Linked DNA regions of Homo sapiens: regions 1, 2, 4, 5 and 6 are each linked to region 3. The links are contacts of gene promoters, found by promoter capture Hi-C in blood cells and fetal thymus (Javierre and others, 2016). All regions are on one chromosome and are shown on one strand. Each heading gives the region's core, a stretch centred on a gene start or on the middle of the fragment in contact. The rest is flanking DNA. Distances are from core to core; before and after follow the strand shown.

Region 1 (4,514 bases), core at 313-2,812, 2.9 Mb before region 3:
ACTAGACCTACATCTTTTAAAGGAAAAATTTAAGCATCTACCGAATATAATATTAAAATGCCACCTGTAACTCTTAGAGAAGTGTCTAAGGATTATTTGAAAATGTCTGCTTTCCTTTTGCATGATATATATATCTTTATGAAAATAGGTTATAGTGATTAACCTAGATATATTCCATTCAGTTGTATAATTGTGATGATAAACAGTTCTTAAACATGTCCAAAGAAGCCAAAAGCCAGTAGGCAGTAAACTGTTCACATTCCTAGGAGGGTAACATATTTTGTCTGGATCACTGGGTTTTGTATATAAACTTAAGAAATTGAGTCCTTGATCCTATGTCCTTTTGAGAATTATCACCGACTGGCATAAGTGATTAGATTAGATAAATATATTGAATGTGTTTGTGGAAGATGAGAGGGGATGCTAAACAGGAAGTATAGCAGGAAGACTGGCAGTTTCTGCTTTTGTCTTAGTATCTTTGAGAGATAGTGCTGTTTCCTGCTAAGTAATTTTGCGTGTTACAGAGTATTTAAACACTCATATGCATGGTGTTCGAGTTCACAAAGGGAGTGTGGAATGACCCTCTTCAAACCATCCTATCACACTGGTTTTCTTTTTTCTAAACCACAGTTACTTTTGCACCAACCTAATACTAAGCTTTCCTCTTTGTAGACAAACAAGAGGTGGTTAGAAATGTTTTAGACAAATCTATTTGATTTGAAGTAGGTATTTTTGAGTGCACAGGTTAAATTCCTGCACAGCTGCAAGTATACTACATGACTTTGTAACAGGACATTCAGTTACAGCTCCTAGGTCCTGTGGTCTGTATAAAAAAGAGCTGTACCCATAGGCCTTTCAGAAGTGCCTCCTAGAGTAGTGTTTACAAAGACTTAATTTTAAATGTAATTCTCATTCCTTCTTTGATTAAAGATCTGTAACATGACAGTTGTTTGATCATATCATGTTTTCACAGTTGTCCAGAGTGTTCTTTTTATTGTAATTACATGTATAAAGGGGTATTTTTGGAAAAGTGAAGAATCACCTTTGATAGTGTCCTAGTGCAGTTGTTACCTGCATCTATCCCTGTTAAATACCGTTAGCCTGTTTCTCCAGCACACAGCTAAAGCATTTTGCCAGTTGTTAAACATGGAAAAGTCAAACTTCAGAAAATAACTAGTCACCACTTTACACCAGGCAACTTCACTGAAAAGTTTTCTTATGAAACTCACTGCATTTTACAAAATGAGGAGTCTATTTTAAAATAGGTAAGATGTGTTCCTTAACTTCCCGTGTAAAAACTTGGCCTCAAACCTTGCTAGAGTTCTTATATTGCTGCTTAAGCACTGTCCACACACACTGTTTTTGGGGGGAGTGAGGTCTCGTTTCATTTCCTGTATCCTTTGTAACAAGGGTTGTTGGCTTTAGCAGCAGCATTCAAACAGTTAAGACTGTCTTAAGGAAACAAGCAGCCTCAGCCCTCCCTCCTTCCCTTTCTCAGCCAGTCTCTGGCTTCCTCTTACGATTTCACTAATGGCAGCTCAAAGCTGCTGAGCTCTGCCCTGACGGCATGCGCCCCCGCTTCTGTGAGAGCACGCTTCCTGGCATGGGGGTCGAATCATGTCGATAAAATGGGCTCGGTTTCATGAAGTACCCCACATAACAGTGAGATTCATAGGACCAAAGCATGGGGAGGTAAGAGCCTGACTTCTTTAAAGCACTAAATTCTAGTAAACACAGAAAGAGCCAGTGGAGTTGGTTGTTTTGTTTTGTTTCCATCCTGGGAAGAACTAATTTGGATTGTTGCAAAGGGAAGCTATTTCTTATTTATTCAGGTTTGAAGAGCATTGCAAGGCTTGAGAGGATAAGCTGGTTGCCATAAAAAGATTTTTTAAACGATTGAAGTATAATTTAACTTTCCTGAGCAAAAAAATCAGATGCTTTTCCATTTAACATTTTATGCATGGAAAAACCTTTAGCAAAATTTAGTTAAAAGAAAGAAATTATTTGAAAAAACCCAAATTTAGTTGTTGATTATTACTAAAGTTTTATGTACTTTAGTGATTACCAATTTTCACTCAGAACAGCTTCCTGTTTTGTAAAGTGAAGGAGTTTTTCTCCCTTCCTCTCTCATTATTTTTTATAGTTCAAAAGTGTAGTAATTTGGCTCTTAGATGTTCATTATATGTATTTGATTAACAAAAGACTTCACATGAATCATAGATCTAGCAATTATTTACCATTTCATTACAGTGGTTGGGTTCTGAACAGAAAGTCAGAAGACCTGGGTTCCCATTTTGACTGTGCTGATCATCTGTTGTGTGACCTTTTGCAAGTCAACCAACCTCTCCAGTCCCTGGCAGCATAGTGCAGTGTATGAGAGCTGAGCTTTACAGTCAGCCAGATCTGAATCTTAATTTCAGCTTGAGCAGTTATTGGCGTGTGGCCTCAAATGCATTATTAAACATCTCTAAGCTTCAATCTCTTCAGATGTAAAATGGAGATAATACCTAGTATTATCATTGGGTTGTTGTGAGAAAATACATGTAAATTGCTTACTACAGTGCTTAGCACGTAGTAACTGTTCAGATTTTTAGCTGTTATTTATTATCTTTATCCTCTACGTTGTAAAATGGGAAGCATAATGCTCACCCTGCCCACTTCAGAGTTATTGAGTCAGACGAAATGATGTATGTAGAAGACATTGATTCAAAATGTTAAGGCATTTAGTAGTTGTCATGATCACTGACTTGGGACACCCATTTTCCTGGAATTTTTTTAGGACATAACAATGGTATTGACAATAGGTAAAACCTCTTACCTTGTGAATGGTAGGTCTTTGTAGTCCAGTTGGTTTGAAAGGAAATTATTTCATTGATACTGATAAGCCAGCCAAGTACTCTGCCAAACAGTGCTTCTAAAGGACCTTTTATGGAGAGCATGGTTATATCCCCATGGTCCTGGCCTCCTAAGGATGGTGTCCACCTGAAATGTCCCTGACTGCTTTAGATATTTCATTAAGGACCCACCACTCATCAGTAGTTCTTCAAGTTTTCAGTGTTTGAATTCCTTTCCGTTCCTCTTCATGACTGTGTAAGCTTTGACAACAGCCTCTCTTAGATTGAGGCTTGATGTCATATGAGTCCTCTGCTTTCAGTCTGTCTCTAGAACATTTCTGACATTCCTGCAGTATTCTTAAGGTGACATGGCCAACTTAATCTGGCACTTAGAGCTCCTGACTCTCAGCCCAGTGCCCCCACTGTTCACCCAGTCTCATGTCTCATTTGCTGGTGTCCCCTGTGCTTTGTACCTAGCCCGGTTTTGGCCTGCTCAGTAAGTAGAAGCACCTGGGCAGTGGCTGGGCACACAGGAAGCACAAGATGAGTATCAGTTTCTGTTGCCACTCTGACAAGTGAGGGAAGACCACAGGAAAGAAAGGAGCTTCACAAAAGAGGTCAGAGAGCACGGCGTAGGAAGCTTATCTTTCCAACCTAGGGACACTGCCTGCTTTTCCTGCCTTCCTGCACCCCTAGGTACTCAGGGTAGAGGAGTGAGCTACTAAGCCTTGGGACTTCCTTTCCCTGGAACCCCATTTTTTTAAAGGAAGTGACCCTGTTGGTATCTAGCTTGAGGAACAACAAAGGTGGTTTTTGAGAAAAATTATTAACAAGGCTCCTTCCTGTCATCCGTGCATTCTCCTATCCTCCCTGCCCTGCACCGTTGTCCTTTAGCCACTCCCCAATTTCTTCTATCTTCCCTGCTCACATCAAAACTTCCTTTCCCTTACTGCAAGCAATACCTTTCTGTGTTGGCTTAGGAGAATAATGAGCTAATGAAACTCATTTCCAGTAAATTATGAGTAATTAATAATATTGCTAAGCATTATTGTGTATTCACTGTGTGCCAGGCACTGTGCAAAATGCTTTAGAAATGTATTATCTCACCTAATTGTCATATGTTTTAAAAAACATATGAGATGGGTACTTTTGTGATTACTCCCATTTGACAAATGAGAAAACTAAGGCTCAGAGAAATAATTTACCTAGGGTCACGCTATTACTGAGTAGTAGTAGTGGTGGTGGTGGTGATGGTGGTGGTGGTGGTGGTGGCAGTAGTGGTAGTAGTGGTAGTAGTACCTGAATCTGAACCGAGGTCTGGTACCATCGTCCGTATTCTTAACCACTGTACGGTTTTCCAGCCTCCCCTTCTTATCAGTCTCCTCTTGCCGGTTTGAAAATTAGGGCAAAGTTAATATTTACAAACCTTAAAATTCTAATTAGCAGAAACTGAAAATGTATATGTGGGGCATATTTAATATTTCTAACTAGAGTAAAGGAGGAGACTTTATACATACTCCGTCACTTAGGGATATGCAATTGATGTGAGAAAGAGAGGAGCCTCGGTAATTTTTCATGCCACCCAGGCATCTTTTTTTCCCTCAGGCTGATCCCAGAATTGCTGCCACCCTTTTTTCTGCCCTCTGCCTAAAGCTGGCCCTAAACCCATGACTCTCTTCC
Region 2 (4,125 bases), core at 1,041-3,540, 2.8 Mb before region 3:
AGGTTCCCACCCCCTAGACAGCCGCCAGCCTGGGGCACCTCTGTGCCAAGGGCGGAAGCACCTGCCTAGTTGTTTCCCCGGTTTGTCCCATCTCCTTCTGGGCAGCGCCTGCCCCTGAGCCAATCTTCCACTGATGGCAGCCACTCACTCACCGACTCAGCCTGATCCCAAGTGAGGCACTGGAGCCCCACTTTACAGGCAAGGATGCTGAGGCCCACACAGCTTCTGGGCATGTTATTTGTGTACTGTCTCCCAAACTGCACAGGAGGCCCAGAAAGGCAGGGACCATGTGTGGGGCTCACTGATGTGACCTCAACACCCAGGACAGATCCCGGCACAGAGGTCACTTGACTTGATGGCATGGACCTGTCCATCTCTTCCTATGCCCATGATGAAGCCCTGAGACACAGCACACGAAACTCATTCATATCAACTCCACCATGACTGCCAGCCCAGCCACTGTCAAGACCCAGAGGAGAGGAAGGCCGAGGCAGTGGTGAATGCTGCCCAGGCGGCTGCGACACCTGACATGTGGTAAACGCGTGTCATTTTACTCACACCAGCACAATGCCGCCTCCTCCTCGCACTCACACCCTGACTGTTCTCTGGGAACCACCTGCCTCCAGGCAGCTCAGCGGGTGGCATCCCGGGGTGGGCACTGGGCCCCAGGTGCTGCACATCACTGGGCCCTGGGGATCAGGTGGGGAGTGGACACGTGCCAGGCCTGGCTGATGAGCTAGTGTCATCCTCCGAACTGCTGTGATGGGGCCTACACCCAGGACAGACCAGTGGGACTCTATACTAAGATGTTCACTGGAACTTTGAGGAACGAAGCAGGCCCTTTCCCTAGGACTGCTGACCGGACTGGACCAGGGCTGGGAGTGGGAAGGGGTGACAGCCGTGTTGCCACCTACCCAAGATGGAAGCCTGCGCAGAGGGCCAAGTGGAGCCCTGTGGTCCTCTGGTCCGCCCCCTTTTGCTGAGGCCTGTCACTTAAGGACTCACAGGGTCATCAGTGCCCTGAATTGGTGACCAGGGGCTGCTTGTCTCGGTAAGGGGTCTTAGCTATGTGTCCCTCCACCCCTTCCATCTAGCAACCAGAAGAATGGTTGTGTGTGATTATTTTCAGTTGCTCAAGATATATGTGTTCAGTACCAGTGACATACCCAGCCTCATAGCAGGGCCTGGGGATGCAAAAGCAGCCCAAGCCAGAGGCTCCCAGCGGCGGGGGGTGGGGAGCATGTGAGAGGGCCCAAAAGCAGGCCCCGGGAAGCCTCCCTGTGCCCATGGCTCACGTCTTTGGAGCCATAATCAATCAGACACTCTCGCTCTGCACATATCACAGAATTGTTCTCATGACCTAAGCGTCGTCCTGAGCTTTGATGGATTTAAGGCACATAGCGTAACTGCACAATGTTGCAATGCCACAGATCAGCAACTCTTCATCCTGCTACGAGGGGTGGATCCACCTTGGACATCGCTGCTCCCCAGGCAATCCTCACCTACAGACTCAGCTAAAATGTACCGGGTAACAATGTGCCCAGCATCCTTCTCCAGCACATCTTTGGAAAGTTAAATGCACAAAGAAACAAACTAGCCAAGGGGTGAGACTTTCTGAAGAAAACTTGCCACACTCACAGAAGATTCCAGTGACCGAAAGCGAAAGGCCTATCCTGAGAGAAATAGGAACCCGGATGCCATCAAAGCTGCTTTTTCCGTGCCAGTCTCAGGAAGGCCTGACTTAGTATGGCTACAGCACTAACCCCTTCCCACCCGCCTCCACTAACCAAGAGTTAGCAAGGCTCAAAACGAGGGTGTCAGCTCCATCATTCTTCACTACAGGATGGGGAAACGAGAGAGGCACAGCGCTCAGCCTGCGTAGTACCCAGGCATGAACAGCTCAAATTATCTCTGGAGCTCAGGGCCAAGCCAATCCGTATGGCCCCCTGGTACAAAATGAAAACCCCTCCCCACTCCCGCAGTGCGATTCTTTTTTTCTTTTCTTTTTTTTTTTTTTGAGACGGAGTCTTGCTCTGTCTCCCAGGCTGGAGTGCAATGGCGCGATCTCAGCTCACTGCAACCTCCGACTCCCAGGTTCAAGCAATTCTCCTGCCTCAGCCTCCCGAGTAGCTGGGATTACAGGCGCCCGCCACCACACCCGGCTAATTTTTGTATTTTTACTAGAGACGAGGTTTCACCATGTTGGCCAGGCTGGTCTTGAACTCCTGACCTCAGGTGATCTGCCCGTCTTAGCCTCCCAAAGTGCTGGGATTACAGGCATGAGCCACTGCGCCCGGCCAGGGCGATTATTTTAGGTTTGCCAGTGTACCTGCAGTGTACCAGTCTCTGGGTTAGCAGGAAAGCACCTTTGGAAACTCGGAAAAGCCAAACCTGGCTTTTGGGCTTTTTGACAGATGTGGCTCTGGACCCAAGCACAAGACTTAGAGAGGAAAATGCAGCTGAAATTCAGGCTGCATGAGGTTGGGTGCCCTTATGCAGTGAACAACCTGCACAGTGATTCACGGCCACCCTGCAGGAGCTGACGCTGACAGAAACCCAAGACACGGCCCTTCCTGGCACCAAGTATGCACTGGGTGCATCGGAGTCAGGATTCCACCAACAATGACTTCATGAAAACACACAGCCGCAAGGACCTCAGCATGTCCCTTTGCCAGGAGTTCCATCATTCCCGTTTTATTGATAAGGAAACAGACTCAACGCCACATTCTTGGAACTTGGGCCTGACTGCAGACTTTGAGCTGCTAATTCCTCAGGAAGGCGGAGGTGTTCAGCAAGCAGTGGCAGGAAAGGAGATGGAAAGATGAACTCCTTGCTCTCCTGTCCCCTCCTGAGGGCTGGCAGCACAAGCCAGGTAGGATGCACCAGCCACCCGGCCTGAGGTCCCCTGCCTGGGTTGCAGAGGCTGTGGGGGCAGCAACCATGTGTGAGGGCGCCCAGCCAGGCTGCTGCCTTTCAATGGCTCGTTTAAAAAAAAAAAAAAAAAAAAAAAAAGCGGCCAGGCGTGGTGGCTCACACCTGCAATCCCAGCACTTTGGGAGGCTGAGGTGGGCAGATCACAAGGTGTGGAGTTCGAGACCAGCCTGGCCAACATGGTGAAACCCCGTCTCTACTAAAAATACAAAAAATTACCCGGGCATGTTGGCGTGTGCCTGTAGTCCCAGCTACTCGGGAGGTTATAGCATGAGAACTGCTTGAACCCAGCAAATGGAGGTTGCAGTGGGCCGAGATCACGCCACTGCACTCCAGCCTGGGCGACAGAGCGAGACTCTGTCTCAAAAAAAAAAAAAAGAAAGAAAGAAAGAAATGCAGGCAGGGCACAGTGGTTCACGCCTGTAATCCCAGCATTTTGGGAGGCTGAAGCGGGCAGATCACCTGAGGTCAGGAGTTGGAGACCAGCCTGGCCAATATGGTGAAACCCCATCTCTACTAAAAGTATAAAAATTAGCTGGGCATGGTGGCACGCACCTGTAGTCCCAGCTACTTGGGAGGCTGAGGCAGGAGAACTGCTCAAACCTGGGAGGTGAAGGTTGCAGTGAGCCAAGATCGTGCCACTGCACTCCAGCCTGGGCGACAGAGAGGCTCCGTCTCAATCAATCAATCAATAGCAAAAAAAACCTTTATGCATATTTATTCAATATTGTATAGATCTTGTTATTTAAACTGTAACTGATCTGAATTATATTTTTCAATGTGCATATTTATTTAGTTTGGTTTTGTTTCATCTTTTTATTGTGAAAAGATCTGAGGCCGGGCACGGTGGCTCACGCCTGTAATACCAGCACTTTGGGAGGCTGAGGTGGGCGGATCATGAGGTCAGGAGATCGAGACCATCCTGGCTAACACAGTGAAACCCTGCCTCTACTAAAAATACAAAAAATTAGCTGGGTGTGGTGGCGGGTGCCTATAGTCCCAGCTACTCGGGAGGCTGAGGCAGGAGAATGGCCTGAACTCAGGAGGCGGAGGTTGCAGTGAGCCGAGATGCCACCATCGCACTCCAGCCTGGGGGACACAGCAAGACTCCATCTCAAAAAAAATAAATAAATAAATAAATAAATAACAGATCTGACACTTGCAGTGAAGCCACAAGAATTGTGAAATGGCACC
Region 3 (4,436 bases), core at 710-3,209:
GATATTGACTCTCTTAAAACTCTCCTTGGTTGGGTGTGGTGGCTCACGCCTGTAATCCCAGCACTTTGAGAGGCCAAGGTGGGTGGATCACGAGGTCGGGAGTTCGAGACCAGCCTGACCAACATGGTGAAACCCCATCTCTACTAAAAATACAAAAATTAGCTGGGCATGGTGGCACGTGCCTGTAATCCCAGCTGTTCCTGAGGCTGAGGCAGGAAAATTACTTGAACCCGGGAGGCACATGTTGCAGTGAGCCGAGATTGTGCCACTGCATTCCAGCCTGGGTGACAGAGTGAGACTCCATCTCAAAAACAAAAACAAACAAAACAAAAAAAACTCTCCTTGCCCCAGATTTACCTCCCACAGTCCCCATGCCTGAAGACCGCTGTCCTATAACCCCTTCCCCTCTGCTCTCTGATCAACGCTGCCTCCTAAGTAGCATTTGAATCTGTCATTTCAAATGCTACTTAGGTGGGGAGCTCTTTATCCTCCACACCACTCTGGACATCATGATCTTCCAAATTTCCACAAACACTCCCCCACTCCTTTCTCCAGTCCTCATCCATTCCTCTCTATGCTGCAGCCAGAACAAGTTTTTTCAAATGCAGATTCACTGGTAAACTATCTATGGCTTAAATCCCTCTGCCTCCCCAAAGCCTTCAGGGGCCTGGGTAAAAGGATTGATCTCTCTTGTGACCTCATCCCTTGTCCTGCTTCCCTCAAATTTGTACTCCCATCAGAAAGAGCTCCTAGCTTATTTCTCATCACAGGTACGTTTCCAAATCACTTCTGCTTGCAAAATGTGAACTAAGAGAAGTCAGACTGCTTAGGTAAGGATCTTTGGATTCTAGGTGTTTCTCCTTAATTTAAGTGTCAATTTCCTTAACTGTAAAACTGAAATAATAGTAAGGTCATTGTACAAATTAACTGAGTATTTTGCCTGGCACATCATTCGTGCTCACATAATACGTGTGAACTGTTTATTATTGTTCTTGTTATTACTCATGTTACACTGAATTTTCTTTCTTTCTTTCTTTCTTTTTTTTTGAGACGGAGTTTTGCTCTTGGTGCCCAGGCTGGATGGAGTGCAATGGCGCGATCTCGGCTCACTGCAACCTCCGCCTTCTGGGCTCAAGCGATTCTCCTGCCTCAGCCTCCCGAGTAGCTGGGATTACAGGCTCCCGTCAACGCCCGGCTAATTTTTGTATTTTTGGAGAGATGGGGTTTCATGTTGGTCAGGCTGGTCTCAAACTCCTGACTTCAGGTGATCACCTGCCTCGGCCTCCCAAAGTGCTGGGATTACAGTCGTGAGCCACCGCGCCCCGGCCTCATGTTGCACTGAATTTTCTGTTAACCTTGCTGTTTCCCTGCTGTTAGATAAACAACTCAGGATGCTTATGTGTTTATTGTGTGCATCCCACTGCCAAGCCCACGTAGGAACTTAATACTTAGGAGTCAAGTGTTGCAAAAGAATAAATGAAAAAGCAGCGCTGACGGAGGAAACCTGACTTTCAAAGTCTCTCTTTAGTGCCTACTGTGTATATTATTTCCTTGAATCCCAGAACACCCGAGGAGGTAAGGGCCGATGTTCCCAATCTGCAGATGTGGGTGTACTCAGTAAGTCATTCGGCCTTTGGTGGTACCAGGCTTACAGGAGCCCACATCCCGACCCAGGTAGAGGAGTGGATTGGAGCCGGGGAACACTGATGGGACCGGGCAGGGACGACAGGAGGTCAGTCTCCCTTCCCTTCTCTTTAAAATTTCCCGCCAGTATGGCCGGCTCGCAGCACGAGTTACGCCCTCTTCAGGAGTCCCTCCCCTTCTGCTCTCGCCCGCCTCCCCGCTGCCAGGCAGGCTCGACCAATCAGAAGAGGTCTTGGGCGGGCGCTGCCGTCCAGCGAGCCAATAGGCGGGCAGTCGGAGCCGGGCTTGCCCGGGCATGTGGGAGCTGCCGGCTTTCCGGACGCCACGTGCAGACCGGAAGAGACACGCGGGGCTTCAGGTGAGATCCAGGACCCTGCACCGGGGCGGCGGGGTCGGGCGGGCTGAGGCCGCGTGTCCCGGGTCGCAGGTCCCCGCGCGTTGTTTCCGCCCCGGCCTGCGGCGGGGACGCCTGAACTGGGCTGACCCTGCCCTACCGGCCCGCAGAAAAGCAGGCCGGGCGCCGCCTGTCTCCAGCCCTCGCTCTGCTCGGGGGTCCAGGGCCAGAGGGGGCGGCGCTGGTCGTTGGGACTCGGCCCAGCTGCCGCGGCCAGCAAGTGACCAACGCCCGAGTCCTTCCCGGTGAGATCAGGCCTCCCACGCGTCACGCCTGGGAGAACGCCAGCCGGCGGGGAGGTCGTGCCAGGATAGCAGACTTTAGTTGTTGTCGTTGTTCCGTGGACTTTTTAGCAGCACAGGGGACCTTATCGAGCCAGGTTTTTTCAGGTTTGGGCGATTATCAGAATTGTGGCTTGAGGGTAGGGGTCGTCCGCGCTCTTTTTAAAAATCTAGATTCTCAGGCCCCTTTCCCCAAAATAGCAATTAGGACGGTGTGGGAGTGGGCCTGAAAATCAGCCTTTCATCAGATGTCATATGGTAATTAACTACATTTGGGAAGCCCTTATCTAATTCACAGCCCTCGGTTGATGGTGAAGAGACGTGACTTGCCCCAGATCATCTAGCTACTTAGTGCCAGAGGAGGGTCTAGAACTGCCCTCTGCCCTCTTGATCAGCCAGCAGGTTGGTGGCTCTCATGCCACCGAGGATTCTGACTTCTTGGTTCCTTTGGGGCCTTTGCTCCATTGACTCTGCAGCTGGGACCCTTTCTTTAGGCCAGACCCCCTCCCTGCCTGAAGGCCGGGTGTCTGACCCCCAGAGCGCTGGGTCCAGGCTAGAGAAAGGCTTGTGTTTGTCCTTGTTGAAAGGGTTGTTTTATCTGAGCGGAACTTCTCTCCAGCTTCACTGAGCTACATTTGGGTCCCCAAAGAGGTGTGTCCTTGATGACTGTTGGTTTTGACGTGTCAGCATGTAGCAGGAGGAGCCGCGGACAAAACCCCACAGAGGTAGTGAAGGAATTGGCTTTTAATCAGCTGGAAGCATCGGCAGACTAGCATCTCAAAATCCGAGCTTGTTGAGTGCACAGTTTCTGTCCCTTTTAAGGACTCACAACACTAAAGATTTTACAAGAAAGGGCCATGATTGATTGAGCAATCTAGGGGGTATGTGACAGGGACTGCATGCACCGGTAGTCAGAGTGAAACAGAACAGAACAGAACAAGAGATTTCACAGTGTCCTTCTATACAATGTCTGAAATCTATGGATAACATCGGTTGCTAGGTCATGGGTTTAATTTTAACTATCAGGCTAAGGTCAGGCAGGCCCAGGCCTGGTTTTGGGTCTGGTTTTGGGTCTGGTGCGTGGCGCCGGGCTGCCTGCCTTTGGTTTTGCTTCCTTGTTTCTTCTTAAAACAGGTACTGAGTATAAAATAATACAGAACAATATGAGGGGGAGGTCTCTTTCTCTCTTCTCTTAAGCAAGGTCAGGGTGTTTGGAAAAGGACTACTTTCCTCTCTTGAAATAGGAGGCTACAGAGACCTTTTCTCAGATAACTTAATTTCTGGCTTCTTTAAAACCTTGCCAGTAGGATCAGGAAAGCCACCCACCCTACTCCTAGCCTCAGCCCCTCACAGAGAAAGGAGGGGACTATCCGCCAGCCCCCTTTCCCAAATTAGTTATTAGCAGGGTGGGCATTGGGCTTCTTAGGCTTTTTTCTCCCATTGCTGGGCTGAGGCAGATTAAGGTTCTGAATTTGTCAGTTCTAAGATGTGACTGTCAATATGAGGAAGTTGGTTACAGTTAAGACCTTTTTAAAAGAGAGACCTTTTCTCCTGGAAAGGATGGGATGAGCAAGCAGGGTGGATGAGTCAGGATGGGTCAGGTCTGGATGAGTCAAGTCAGGATGCGGTGCCCTGCCCTAGAGTGTGGGGATTCTTTATGCAAATGCTGGCATCATCAAACCTGGCATTTCACCTCACCTCCCATCCCCTTCCCATTTCTCTTAATCTCTGCTGCTACTGCTCAGGTTTTCATCTTCTCCAGACCTCTTTCTACACCCTTCTGAAGAGGACCTGCCACATGCTAGCTTCTAGGCTGGCTGTTGGGGAAGGTACAATCAAGGCTCTAACCTGCCTTCTTACAGCTCTGAGGTAGACTGTGTGTACCAATGGACTTTGAAGGGTGTAATAATTCTCAAATTGTGCTATAAGAGCTCAGCACAGAGGGATGAATTTCTTTGCTCCCCAGCTAGACTTAGTGTCCTGAGTCAGGGCTACTGTGGGATATTTCAGTGACCTCCATAGGTGCCTCTGGGGCTCCCCCACTCACTTGGCCAGTAGAGACCAATTCAGGGGACACCAGATTGCGGTAGGGGTGGCTTGTGGAAGGGCCACCAGAG
Region 4 (4,621 bases), core at 817-3,316, 2.8 Mb before region 3:
TATCAGAAGTGCCCAGTATCATTTTTATGAGACTTCATGAATAAGAAAACAATGCCAACAAGTCAATATTGCGTGCAAATGTCAGTAAATTCCCACTCAATGGCTCCCTAGCCTGAATTTTGCAGAGTGAAATCGATGCAAGTTTTGTCAGGCCTGCTGACTTTAAAGGCGGAGGACCCTGTGCATCCAGAGAACCCACTGAAGGATGTAGGCTGCATCGTCACTCACTCTGGAAGGAAGTTAACAAAAGTACTTACACCTTTAACCTCCAGGGCATTCCTTCCCAGGCTGTGGAGGGGGGCTCCTTAGCCTGCAGTGACCTGGAATATGTTTCCAACTTTGCAGAAGTGCTGAGATCCACAAGATGGCAGCAGCCGCTCAAGCTTCGCACAGGGTCCCTGCTGCTTTTGTAATTCCCAAATTAAAAACCAAACCAAACCAAACCAAACGTACATCTGCAATCTGGAAGACGCCAGGAAAGATCATTCATTCTAGGCCTGCCCCCTTTACATCCAGAACTGTCCACATCAGAATCAATGTGAGCAAACTGCTTATAAAGGTCTTAGGGAAAAGGAATCTCAATTGTTGACTCAATTGATTCATTTATTTATTTACTTCTTTTTCCATCCTCCCAACTTTTCACTCTGAAAAGTTTCAAACCTATAGAAAAGCTGGAAGATGAACATCTTCTTGGTCTTCACTGGGATTCATCAAATTATCACATTTAGCCACATTTATTTCATCTTTCTCTCTCTTCCTCTGGATGAAAGCTTTGATAGTTGCAGACACCCTGACACTTTACCTCTCAATAATTCAACACGTCTTCTAAGAATAAAGACATTTCTTTATATAACCACAACATCACCATATCCAAGAACCTTAACATTGATACATTACTTAATTTATAATCACATTTAAATTGCCCCAACGGTCCCAGCAATGTTCTTTACAATAATTTTCTTTCTTTCCCTTCCTTCCTTCCTTCATTCCTTCCTTCCTTCCTTCCTTCCTTCCTTCCTTTCTTTCTCTCTGTCTTTCTTTCCTTCCTTCTTTGAGATGGAGTCTCACTCTGTGGCAGAGGCTGGAGTGCAGTGGTGTGATCTCAGCTCACTGCAGCCTCTACCTCCCAAGTAGCAGGGATTACAGGCGTGTGCCACCACACCTGGCTAATTTTTTTGTATTTGTAGTACAGATGGGGTTTCACCATGTCAGCTAGGCTGTTCTTGAACTCCTGACCTCCAATGATCCGACTGCCGCGGCCTCCCAAAGTGCTGGGATTACAGGTGTGAGCCACCTCGCCTGGCCTATAGTAATTTTCAATCCCCTGCTACAGAGTCCATTTGAGTATCACACCCTCATGTAGTTGTCATGTCACCTTTTTTGTAGAGCTCTCCTCCTCCGCTTTTGATCTTTTATGACATTGACATTTCTCAACAGTCCGGTTCATGTGTTTTGTAGAATGCCCAGCACTCTGGATTTGTCTTACTGATTCTGGATTATTAATCCAGGTTAAGTATCTTGGCAAGAATACTACCAGGGCAATCTGGCATCCTTCCTGTTACATCACTTCAGGCGGCACATGATGTCATGTGGTCCCATTACTGACGATGCTAAATTTGAACACCTAGCTAAGGTATCAGACCTCGGGCAGAGAACTCATTCTTGTCCTGCGCCTGCAGCAATCCTGAACGGCCACCCCACCTCCTCCCTTGACTCGCTGGTCTGTACGCTCCCTGCAGCAGCCAGAGAGATGCTCTGAAAGTGTTAGTCAGATGAGGCCATGCCTTTGCTCAAAACCTTCCTATGGCTTCCCACCATGCCCAGAATAGCTTCCAAACTCCTTGCCATGCCTTCACAGCCCTGCATGGTCTGGCTGCTGTCTAACTTCTTTTTCAACATTAAAATTAAAAAAAATTTAAAATAAAAAAATTTTAAATTGGCATAATAATTGTACATAATTATGAGGTTGATAGTGAAGCTGCAATACACATAATATATAGTGATCAGGGTAGTTAGCACACTCACCATCTCAAACACTTATCACTTCTTTGTGTTGGGAACGTACAACATCCTCCTTCTAGTTACCCGAAACTATTAATATCTAGTATCTTATTGTTAATTATGGTCATCCTACAGTGCTATAGAACACTGCAACTTATTCTCCTCATCTAGGTGTGATTTTGTATCCTGTAACAAATCTCTCCCTATTCCTCCCTGCCCTCTATACTTCCCAGCCTTTAGCATCTTCTGTTTTACTTTTTACTTCTATGAGAGCAACTGTTTTTAGCTTCCATATGAATGAGAACATGTGGTGTTTAACTTCCTGTTCCTGGCTTATTTTATTTAACATAATGTCCTCCAGTTCCATCCATGTTGCTGCGAAAACAGGATTTCATTCTTTTTTATGACTGGATAGTATTCCTTTGTGCATATACACCACATTTTCTTCATTCATCTTTGTTGGACACCTAGATTGGTTTCATATCTGGGCTATAGTGAATAGCGCTGCAATAAACGTGGGAGTGCAAAGTCTCTTCAATATACTGATTTCCTTTCCTTTGGAAAACTGCCCAATAGTGGAATTGCAGAACTTACAGTAGTTCTATTTGTAGTTTCTTGAGAAGCCTCCACACTTCCTCCATAGTGGCTGTACTAATTTACAATCCCATCAATGGTAGATGAGCTCCCTTTTCTCCATATCTTCACCGGCATTCGTTATTTTTTGTCTTTCTGATGATAGCCACTTTACACTCTAACTGGGTGAGATGATACCTCACTGTGGTTTTGATTTGCATTTCCCTGATGATTAGTGATATTGAACATTTTTTCATTTATTTGTTGGCCATTTGTATTTCTTCTTTTGAGAAAAATCTGTTGAGATCATTTGCTTCTCCTCCAGTCCACCCCCACTGCTTTGTTTGTTTGTTTGAGACAGTCTGTCTTTGTCACCCAGGCTAGAGTGCAGCAGCATGATCAAGGAGCACTACAGCCTTGACCTCCCAGGTTCAGGTGATCCTCCCACCTCAGGGCCTCCTATCCCCACAACCCTGGTCACTGACCATACCCAGCTAATTTTTGTATTTTTGGTCGAGATAGCCTGCCACATTGCCCAGGCTGGTCTCAAACTCCTGGGCTCATGTGATCCTCTGGCCTCAGCCTCCTGAAGTGCTGGAATTACTGGCATGAGCCATGATGCCTGGCCTTTTTGCCCATTTTTTAATTGGATTTTTTTCACTGTTGAGATATTAGAGTTCCTCATATATTCTGGATATTAATCCCCTGTCAAATGAATAATTTGCAAATATTTTCTCCAGTTCCGTAGGTTGTCTTCTCACTCTGCTGATCATTTCCTTTGCTGTGCAGAAGCTTTTTAGGTTTGATGTAATCTCATTTATTTATTTTTGTTCTTGTTGCCTATGCTTTTGAGGTCTTCTTCATAAAATCTTTTCCCAGATCAGTGTCCTGAAGCATTTCCCCTATGTTTTCTTCTGGTAGTTTTACAGTTTGGGGTCTTACATTTAGGTCTTTGATCCATCTTCAGTTGATTTTTGCATATGGTGAGAGATAGGGGTCTAGTTTCATTCTTCTGCATATGGATATCCAGTTTTCCTAGCACCATTTATTGAAGAGACTGTCCTTTCCCCAGTGAGTGTTCTTGATTTCTTTGTCAAAAATCAGTTGGCTGTAGATACCTGGATTAATTTCTGGGTTCTCTATTTTGTTCTATTTGTCTGTGTGTCTGTTTTTATGCCAGTACCATGCTGTTTGGGTTATTAAAACTTTGTAGTATTTTTTCTTTCTTCTTTTTTTTTTGAGACAGAATCTCCCTCTGTTGCCCAGACTGGAGTACAGTGGTGCGATCTCAGCTCACTGCAACCTCTGCCTCCCAGGTTCTAAGTGATTCTCCTGCTTCAGCCTCTGGAGTAGCTGGAATTTACAGGTGTGTGCCACCATGCCTGGCTAATTTTGTATTTTTAGTAGAGACGGGGTTTCACCATGTTGGCCAGGCTGGTCCCAAACTCCTGGTCAGTGATCAACACACCTCGGCCTTCCAAAGTGCTGGGATTACAGGCGTGAGCCACTACACCCAGCCTCTTGGTAGTATATTTTGAAGCCTGGTTGTGTGATACCTCCAGCTTTGTTTTTTTTGCTCAGGATTGCTTTGGCTATTAAGGATCTTTAATGATTCCATACAAATGTTAAGATTTTTTTTTCTATTTCTGTGAAGAATGCCACTGGTATTTTGATAGGGATTGCGCTGAATCTGTAGGTTACTTGGATAGTACCTGCCTACCTTCTGACCTTGTTTAGCTGTTCTCCCTCCTGCTCACTGTATTTACCTACCTGGCCATCTTTCGGTGTTTTTGGAGACATCAAACTGCACTTTCAGTTCTCTCCACCCTTAATGTTCTGGCACAGTGCCTCCCTCTTATTACCCAGGTTTCAGTTAAGATGTTAGTTTCATCTCTAGCTTATTTTTCTATGAAGCACTGATCATCAACTGAAATTAAGTACTTATTTATTCCTTTACTTACTGGTAAGTAAGAAATGACTTACCCCATCCTACAGGTTCCCAAGGTCCACGAAGGCCGACTCCTGGGTTGTTTTGTTTATGACTGCA
Region 5 (4,328 bases), core at 953-3,452, 2.9 Mb before region 3:
TTGTTGTTGTTTATTGTTTTGAGACAGAGTCAAACTCTGTCACCCTGGCTGGAGGGGCAGTGGTGCAATCTCGGCTTACTACAACCTCTGCCTCCAGGGTTCAAGCGATTCTCCTGCCTCAGCCTCCTGAGTAGCTGGGAATACAAGCGCCTGCCACCACGGGGGTTTCACCATGTTGGCCAGGCTGGTCTCGAACTCCTGACCTCCAGTGATCCACTTGCTTTAGCCTCCCAAACTGCTGGGATTACAGGTATGAGCCACCGTGCCCGGCCAGAAACATACATTTTTACTGAAATTGCCTTCAACTCCCCAGAAAGCTGGAATACTTTCTTTCTAGTTAATTTTCACACACACACACTCTCTCTCTTAAGTTGGAAACGTATATGGGGCAAAGGAAATGGACATCATTGACAGAAATCTAGTAGCCTCTTTACCCGATTTAGTTCAATCCTTACAACAGGCAATATGATCTGTTTTTTTCTTTGTTATCAATGAGGAAATGAAGTTACAGGAGCAGAGGGACCTTCCCAAGGAGGGCCACCAAGTAGAAGAAAAGCTGCTGTTTGCACCCAGCTGGCTTGACTGCAGTGTGGCCCCTCACGCTGCACAGCACAAACTGAGGACCCACGTCCTGAGGCTCAGCTGAGGGAGCCAAGCACATGGGCTGCAAAGATCTGGCCTTGATCCCGGAGCAGAGCTCACACTACTGCTGGGAGGAGGAGACAGGCATGGCAGGGACCTCGCAGGCCTACAGGAAAGGCAGCCACAGCTGGCAACACCAGCTTGGAGGGCAGACTGGGAGCTGAAACCCCGCCCCCCCACACCCCGGCCACCTCTCTCAGGCAAATGTCACAGCTGCATTTAACAGTGCTGGCTTTTCGGTATGGCCTCAACTCCCATTTTAAAAATCTCACTATTTTCCATGGGAAGTGGGGAGATGGAGAGAGGGAGAGACAGGACCTGCTCCTCGACAGTCTTGGATGAAGCCCTAGTTAGGGTTGTACAGATGAGAGACACAGAGTACCTCAACGTTCACTCTGCAGAGTGGACAGAAGCGGGGCCAGCTTCGAAAGCGTTGAGGAAGCTCACAGGAGCCAATGTGAAGAAAGTGCGGCCATGGAGGAGTCATCCGTGGCACTCGCTCTCAGAGCCTGCATTTATCCTGCATGCACGTGTCAGGATGAGACTGTGCCATCCTGTTCCCTCTGCGGTCCCGACGCTGGTAGAGCCACCACAGGGTGGGCTTGGCAGGATGTGTCTCTTGCTCCCATCCTCCCTGGTTCCCCACCATCCCTGCAAGCTGAGTGGAGAAGCTGTGATGAGTCTACCTGGAAATGGCTTTGGAGCCCTGGGTCCTGGCATGGAGCTGGTGCCCATCAGTAGAATTACTTAATCTATCGTGCAACCCAGGAGTGTCTGGAAGCTTCTCTGCGTACCAGAGCAACGCTGCTCATCTCCTTTACCTGCAGAAAGGACAGGAAAGGAGTCCAGCCCTACTAAATTCAACTCAAAAAAGCCACTGCTCCCCTACTGCAAGCCCTCAGGGGCCCGAGCGCCAGGTGCCAAACCCAGGCCAACCCCAGGGCCAGAGCAAGGCCCCTCAGGTTCAGGGGGCCTGGGCAGCTGGGGCCAGACACACAGAAACTGCCAGAGCTTCTGCTGCCATGCTGAGCATGTTTCCTCAGCTTTAAAATGGTGACCTCAACAGTGACTGGGGCTAGGCAAGGTGGCTCTCACCTGTAATCCCAGCACTTTGGGAGGCCGAGGTGGGCGGATCACTTGATCACTAACCTCAGTCAGAGGTTAGTGAAAACAAAGGTGTCATTCTTCTCCCACCCAAGTGCATGGACCCCCTGAATTTGATCCCAAATCCCAAGTTAAGAAGCCTCCGGCCTATTCTAGGCTTTTCCTTGACCTTTAATGAGGCAGAGCCACATCCCAAAGCCCAACAAGGCAAGGGAAGATGCAGGACAATACTGTGCCCGTTCTGGGAAATTCACCCAAATCACCCTGGCTCCCTGGGCAGGGCCTGAACCTCTGCAGGTGCCATGGGCGGGCCAAGCTGCAGGTCAGGTAGGGTTGGGCCTGAGGGAAGAAGAGCAGCTGGGGGGCCGATCACCTTCATGGCCTCTTCAAGTTGGAAGAGACCATTCCCACCTCCTGAAGGAGAGAGGCCGGGCAGATCCATCGGGGCTGGGCCTGGGGCCGGGGCTGGGACATGATGGACGGGGCATGCAAGTTTCTTGCTCTGCGAAATATCCCCCCAGTGATGATCCAGAAGAACCAAGGCTCTTTCCAAGCTGTGCTCATTAGACAACTGCTTCTGAAGAAGTTGCTTCTTTCCCCACTATGATTCTACAGCCTTCGGTGTTGAGCAAGGGATGGTTGCCACACACCCTTGGGGTGGATGACTCTGGGCTCATTCTTGTCAATTCCTGACCAAAGAAATGTCCTTTGAAGGCAGGGAGACCTGGCTGAGCAGCCAGGTGGAGGAGGCAGTTGGCTACCCTCTCCTTGCCCTTGGCAACTTGACAGTCCCCCCAGGCAGGCTCTCAGGATGCCAAAGCCTCCAAGATGGCCCGTTTTCTTTCCTGCATCAGGCACAACCCAGGAAAGCTCCACTGGCCATCTTGGGACCGAGGTTTCCAGGGAGACCTTGCCCCATCACTGATGGGGAAGGCGCCTTCTCCCTTCCCCAAGCCCCATCCCAGACTCAGTCTGACCCCTGGGAGGCCAAGGAACATGGAGCTAGGCCTGCTGGGCAATGACTGGAAGCAACACTGCTCCCAGCCCCCAGCCCCCACAATGTAGCATATGGCTTGGTTTCAAATCCCAGTTCCACTGCTGTAATGTGGCGGCCATTCTCCCCCTGTAAAGGGCTATCTGGGCATTGGTCCTGGTGTTTAGTGCTTTATAGAATTTGACCTCAACTTTTAACCCTACTATCATTAAGTCTGTATCAGAGAATCAAGTGGTTTAACCAAGCTTGCACATACATGAGAGCCACACGTGAGAGCTTGAACCCAAACTCAGGTGGGCCTAGCTCCAAATCCACATTCTGTCAGTTGCAACCGTGTTTTTTCCTCCTCCTCCTCCTCCTCTTTCCAGCATGAGACATTGGGCAAGTTACTGTGACCTGTGGACCCATTTCTTCATCAGCAAGAAGAGGACAAGAATGTCTACCTCCGGGGGTCACTGTGAGGGTTAAAGGAGGTAGTTATGCAAAGCACTGGCCAGTGGGCTTGACAACTGCTTGACAAGAAGGGTTTGACAAGAGCCAGGATCTTGGCAGATGACGGCTCTGCATGCTCCCAGAGAAGCGGGAGGCAGGGCGGTGTGCCCAGGTTCCTTCCAACCCCTGACCCAGCATGTAGAGGAAGAGGCTGCTACCTGTCTAATATCTACGCTCCCTTTACTTGGCGTTGGAGTCCTGGAGTTTCCTCGGGGCACTTTCCAGTCCCGCTCGCAGTCAGGCGTGGATGTGACTGAGTTCTAGCTGTTGGGAAAATGGAGAAGTTATGGTGCAACTTCTGGGACATGCCCTTAAAACAGGCTTGCCCATCACTTTCTCTCCTCCCCTTTCCACTGGCTGGAATGCAGATGGGATGGCCGGGGCTGCGAAGGCCAGGGTGGACCAGGAAACCGCTGCCTTGCATGGAAGACGGCAGGGCAGGGAGAGAGGGGGTGGGAGTTGGAGAGAGAGGGAGAGAGGGGGAGAGAGTTGGAGCCCTGTGGGCCACAGCTGGCTCACACTCACCCTGTGACTGTGTGACAGGGAACTTCACCTCTGCTGCTGTCTGGACTCTAGCTGGAGCCAACTCCTGGCTTTGGATGCCCAGAGTGAAGCGCTCAGGCCTGTGTGGAAGTGGTAGCGTTCACCTGTGGTCCCCACCACTGCTACAGGAGCAGACAGTGCGAGGCAGAGTCCCAGGATGCCCCTCCCAGGGCTGCACCTCTGGGCAGGGGGAGGGACGAGGCCCTCTGTGCTCTTGGCTCTTCTACACGCACCATACTCACCTCTGAGACACACCCGCTCAAGATCATTCCATTTTCTAAGGAATCTGGCGTCATGCCCCTACGCCAGCATCAGAAGCACTTCTTACACTGTGAAGGCGCTATTTGGATTTTGTGGGCCAGCACACCACTGAGCACCACGGAAGCCACTGCTGAGAGCCACCGTGCTGGGGCACCTCCGGGTTCCTGTTCACAGCAGAGCCACCCTGCACGCAGGCTGCGCCACGGCATGACCTTCTCGGGCTGCCCGCTGTCTGAGGGGCGCCTGAAGGTGAGATCACAAAACACAGAACACGATGTTTACCCGTGAGCAT
Region 6 (4,442 bases), core at 1,830-4,329, 2.8 Mb before region 3:
GGCGGGCGGATCACCTGAAGACAGGAGTTCAAGACCAGCCTGGCCAACATGGTGAAACTCCGTGTCTACTATAAATACCAAAAATTAGTTGGGCATGGTGACGGGTGCCTGTAATCCCAGCTACTCAGTAGGCTGAGGCGGGAGAATTGCTTGAACCTAGGAGGCAGAGGTTTCAGTGAGCCGAGATTGTGCCACTGCACTCCAGCTTGGGTGACAGAGAAGAGAGAGACTCTGACTCAAAAAAAAAAAAAAAAAAAAGTATATGAGGAGGCTCAAGAAAGATACAAATTTTAACAAGACTTACTTTTATAGGATTCTCTTGGTCTCAACTTCCCATCTTTGATAATAAGAACAAACGTTCCTTCTGGCACAGGGAGGACCTCTTCTGTAAGGAGGTGTTATCTCCTTCTTTCAGGAAGAGAAAGGGAAGGGTCAGAATGCCCTTCTTTCATGTATTTTTTAAAGTGCCTATAGCTCAAAATAATCCTTACGCCAGAGCAGCATATGTTGATGTGGCATATTCTGCCAGCTTTCAATGTGCAAGCAGATATTTGTATATTTGAGTACTCTGTGAAGCTGGATTTTAAAAGCTGTCCCAGTATCTTCAATGTCTGGCCAGATATTAAAAGTCACTATGAGATGGGCTCTTTTGTTTCCTGAAGAGCCACTTGGGTAGCTCCTATCAATATGCAAGGGGAGGAACGGTAGATAATCCTTTCCTGGGAACAGAGGCTAACAGGATGCTTTATCTGGCTCTTCAAGGCTGCTTCTCCCCTCCAAGTGCAAGGGGATGTGGCTGGGGGAGGTGGCGGGAGTTGGAGAATGCATCGACTTGCATTAGAAGCCTAGAGGCCTTGTGGAAGGAAAAGGACTGATATTCCAACCCCTGTCTGGAATTAAAAGATCAGGAAACCTGTAGGAGTATAGAACACTTGGTCCTGAGCAAGGCCCTATGAGAGGAAAGGACGCCAAGGGCCTTGGAGTACAAACTCACTGTGAGGGAAGGTGAGATGGTGACCCTTGGATTTGTGAGAAGACACGGAGCCGGCTCTGAATGTGGCTGTGGTTGGGGATCCAGGCATGTCCTGTGCTTTAGGCAGAGTTTGTGCCTATGAACTAGGAAGAATAACTTGAAGTTCCAGTGTAGAACACTACTCTTGATTGTACAGATCTGGGCCAGCAAGGGTCTTAGCTGGAAGGAGGCAAGGGGGCTTTGGGCTACGCTGGGACAGTGTTCAGAGTGATGGTACAGAAGCCACTGTGTGAATTGGCCAATTGAACTCATTGGTTTGCCTCTCTTTTCTTCCTTTCCTTTCTTTTTCTTTCTCCTCCTTCTACTTTCCTCTCTCTTCATCTGGTATTGGAAGGTAGAATTTTTGCCAAAGGTGCCAAGAACACTCATTGGGGAAAGGACAGTCTGTTCAATAAATGGTGCTGGGAAAACTGGGTATCCATATACAGAACACTGGAACTAGATCTTGATCTCTCACTATTTACAAAAATCAAATCAGAATGGATTAAAGACTTAAATGTAAGACCTGAAACTATGAAACTATTAGGCAAAAACATTGGGGAAATGCTCCAGGACATTGGTCTGGGTAAAGATTTCTTGAGTAAGACCTCACAAACACAGGAAACCAAAGCAAAGATGGACAAATGGGATCACATCAAACATAAAAGCTTCTGCACAAACGCAAAGAAAACAATCAGGAAAGTGAAGAGACAACCTACAAAAATGGGAGAATATATTTTCAAATTGTTCATCTGACAACAAATTAATAATCAGAATATAAGGAACTCAAACGACTCATATATTATTTTATGTATTATTTATATATTAATTGCTGAATACAATTTCTCAAATCAGTGGCGTTTATAATGTATGTAGATGTACCATAATGACAATAGTGGTAGAAAGGACTAGGCGAGGTTAATGAAACGATAATGTCGCAAGTGACTCAAAAGCCAATAGAGGAGTTAAAATAGAATACTAAAAAAGTTTGATTAACCCAAAGGACAGTAGAAAAGAAGGAACAGAGGAACAAAAAAGAGATAGGACAAATAGAAAACAAATAATAAAATGATAGACCAACATATCAACATTTGCATTAAATGTAAAAGGACAAAACATAACAATTAAAAGACAGAGATTATCAGGCTGAATAAAAAAGCAATTCCCGTCTTTATGCTCTATAAAGTGTGCCTATAAGGACACCCTTCTAATGTAAAGACACAGATAGTTTAAAAGTAAAAGAATGGAAAAGTACATACCATGAAAATAGTAAGTATAAGAAAGCTGGTGTGATTATAACAATATTAGACAAAATAGACCTCAAGGCAAGGAGTATTATGAGATACAATACAGATTATTTTATAATAATAAAAGAACCAAATCAGCAGGAACATACACCCCTTCTATATGCATATGTGACCAATGACAGAACTTCCAAATGTATGAAACACAAACTGAGAAGATTAAAGGGACAACTAGGCAAGTCAACGATCCTGGTTGAATATTTTTAACATCCCTTTTTCAGTAATTAATAGAACAATTAGACAAAGGCATCAGTAAGAATATAGAATATGTAAATACTATCAGTTACCTGGACCTAATTGCCATTTATAGGAGATTATACCCAAGAACAGAATACACATTCTTTTCAAATGCACCTGGAATATTTACCAAGTTAGACCATATGCTGGGTGATAAAATAAGTCTTAATAAAATTCAAAAGATTAGGAAAAAAAAAAAGCTTAACAGTGCAGGTTGCTGGACTGATATTTAAACAGCTCCCTGGGTCATGATCCCAAAGCTAATGTGGGAGAGCTCTATGACTGGAAATGGACATTTACAAGTCAGCAGATGATTCCGGCAGCATTTTGCATAGGAGATGAATGGACATCTGGATTCACAGAAGCTGGATTTGAAATAAATTCTCTATGTCGTCCAGCCTGTCTGTCTCAGTCCCTGAGAATATTTCTGGTAATCTATTTATCACTGATTTGAGAACAAAAGGGGATTAAACTGGCCTGACCCTCGAATTTTCAGCTCCAGACTTTCTGGTTCTTCAGCACCTGGGAAGAATATTAACTACTCATAGTAGAATGAATCACGTTGAGATACAATATTAAATAATGTGTTTTATTAAAGGAGCACACTGGGTTGTAAAATGTGACACTGAGTATTTCTCTACAAGCAGACTTGAAATCTTGCGATTCTTTCTAAACATGTAAAGCCTGTGATGGGTGCTCCAGATGATAACTAGCTCTATATTTCCCAGAGTAGTACCTTTCCAACCCAATCCTTACCCATTTTTCTTATTTTTCTGTGCTTTAATATTATTCCCATAATATGATCATATTATCATCAGAGTGACTATGAATAATGCTTTGGCTGTTTTATAATGAAGCTTCTCAACATGATTGATGCTGTGGAAACTGATCATTAAGCTTACTGGAAATGCATAGAAACAGCTCCTTAGAGTAACTGTAAAGAGGAATTTTATTCCAACACTTGAGCATCACATTCTGTCTTCTTTCTGCTCCAAGTCTCTCTTTCTCCATCTAATCCACTTACACCCCCACTGAATACAGACTCCTGAGTTATTGTGATAATATGGGAAAGTGATAGCATGGAAAAGTGAGAGTTCAAAGATAATTTCCCACCTGGGATCAGGCTGTCTACTACATGAAGAGTACAAAAAGGTGGGAAACAAAAGGGGAGTCTGGATGTCTAATAATTTTTTTTTTTTTTTTGCAAGAAGCTTTGAAATTTTGCCATGGTGGGTGCAGGATACCCAGAATGTCAGCTCAGCTGTTCAGACCTAGATCTCTTCTCTTAAAGATGCATTACCTGTAAAGTGACCCCATGGATGCCTTGTGTTTGATTCTTTATCATCCCGGGGCACTGGTGTCTGAGGGGTACCTGTCCCTTCCGTGCCCTTTCTAAGTCTTACTCACAGTCATTTGCAATAGCTGTCGTACATATCTTATCACCAGATCTATGAATGTTTCCACATAGGGACACCATTGATATTGTGGTGGCTAATGTATTATAAGGGTTATCTTAATTATTCTTTTTTCAGTCAGACACTTTAGTATTGCATAGACCCTATCATTATTGCCATATTAACACAGATCTTCAATAATAGGTCCCTATTGTTGGGCTCAGGGCCAGGTAATTTACTCAGGTTGATGAGGTGGCATTATTCTCATTTTACACATGAGCAAACAGAGATCTAGTGAATTTAAGTGATTTGCCAAAATGCACATAGTAAATTACCAGGTGATCCAGACCCCTGGCTCTTTCTAACACACCAAACTGCCTCAACATGGTAAAATGGGAGTTTGTAAGTTTGTTGATTATACAAGTCAGTTGATTTGACCTTCCATTAATTATAAGTCATTAACTCCCATCTGGCAATTCAAGCCACAAAATGTTC

What was found. Contacts are between HindIII fragments. The CHiCAGO score rates a contact against its expected background, and 5 or more counts as called.
Region 1: a fragment that was not itself captured here is called in contact with the fragment with the promoter of AEN in region 3 in 1 of 17 cell types (non-activated CD4 T cells); the score reaches 6.5 in non-activated CD4 T cells.
Region 2: a contact is called between a fragment that was not itself captured here and the fragment with the promoter of AEN in region 3, in 1 of 17 cell types (M2 macrophages). The highest score is 5.2, in M2 macrophages.
Region 4: a fragment that was not itself captured here is called in contact with the fragment with the promoter of AEN in region 3 in 1 of 17 cell types (endothelial precursors); the score reaches 5.8 in endothelial precursors.
Region 5: a contact is called between a fragment that was not itself captured here and the fragment with the promoter of AEN in region 3, in 1 of 17 cell types (M1 macrophages). The highest score is 5.6, in M1 macrophages.
Region 6: a contact is called between a fragment that was not itself captured here and the fragment with the promoter of AEN in region 3, in 4 of 17 cell types (endothelial precursors, M0 macrophages, M1 macrophages and 1 more). The highest score is 15.7, in endothelial precursors.

What each region holds. Positions count from the first base shown.
Region 1 is chr15:85,688,413-85,692,926 of GRCh38, forward strand. All of the region lies in intron 16 of AKAP13 (A-kinase anchoring protein 13), which reads left to right. Among named protein-coding and RNA genes, the nearest start is that of LINC02883, 68 kb to the right of the region's middle. RefSeq lists enhancers at 3,088-3,137, 3,288-3,377, 4,318-4,367. The HindIII fragment of the contact is 1,815 bases long and covers 656-2,470 here.
Region 2 is chr15:85,772,878-85,777,002 of GRCh38, forward strand. The region is part of intron 1 of KLHL25 (kelch like family member 25); the gene reads right to left. Among named protein-coding and RNA genes, the nearest start is that of MIR1276, 4.4 kb to the left of the region's middle. The HindIII fragment of the contact is 6,438 bases long and covers 1-4,125 here.
Region 3 is chr15:88,619,381-88,623,816 of GRCh38, forward strand. It overlaps AEN (apoptosis enhancing nuclease), which reads left to right and starts at 1,960. Exons shown (of 4, transcript NM_022767.4): 1 at 1,960-2,002. RefSeq lists enhancers at 1,168-1,841, 1,842-2,515, 1,845-2,004, 3,491-4,436 and a silencer at 2,025-2,214. The HindIII fragment of the contact is 13,176 bases long and covers 1-4,436 here.
Region 4 is chr15:85,864,922-85,869,542 of GRCh38, forward strand. No RefSeq gene overlaps it. Among named protein-coding and RNA genes, the nearest start is that of MIR548AP, 42 kb to the left of the region's middle. The HindIII fragment of the contact is 2,596 bases long and covers 769-3,364 here.
Region 5 is chr15:85,754,494-85,758,821 of GRCh38, forward strand. It overlaps LINC02883 (long intergenic non-protein coding RNA 2883), which reads right to left and starts at 4,232. Exons shown (of 6, transcript NR_120366.1): 1 at 4,018-4,232; 2 at 3,758-3,855; 3 at 3,391-3,496; 4 at 1,329-1,463; 5 at 1,025-1,162; 6 at 448-748. The HindIII fragment of the contact is 1,562 bases long and covers 1,422-2,983 here.
Region 6 is chr15:85,844,360-85,848,801 of GRCh38, forward strand. No RefSeq gene overlaps it. Among named protein-coding and RNA genes, the nearest start is that of MIR548AP, 21 kb to the left of the region's middle. The HindIII fragment of the contact is 657 bases long and covers 2,752-3,408 here.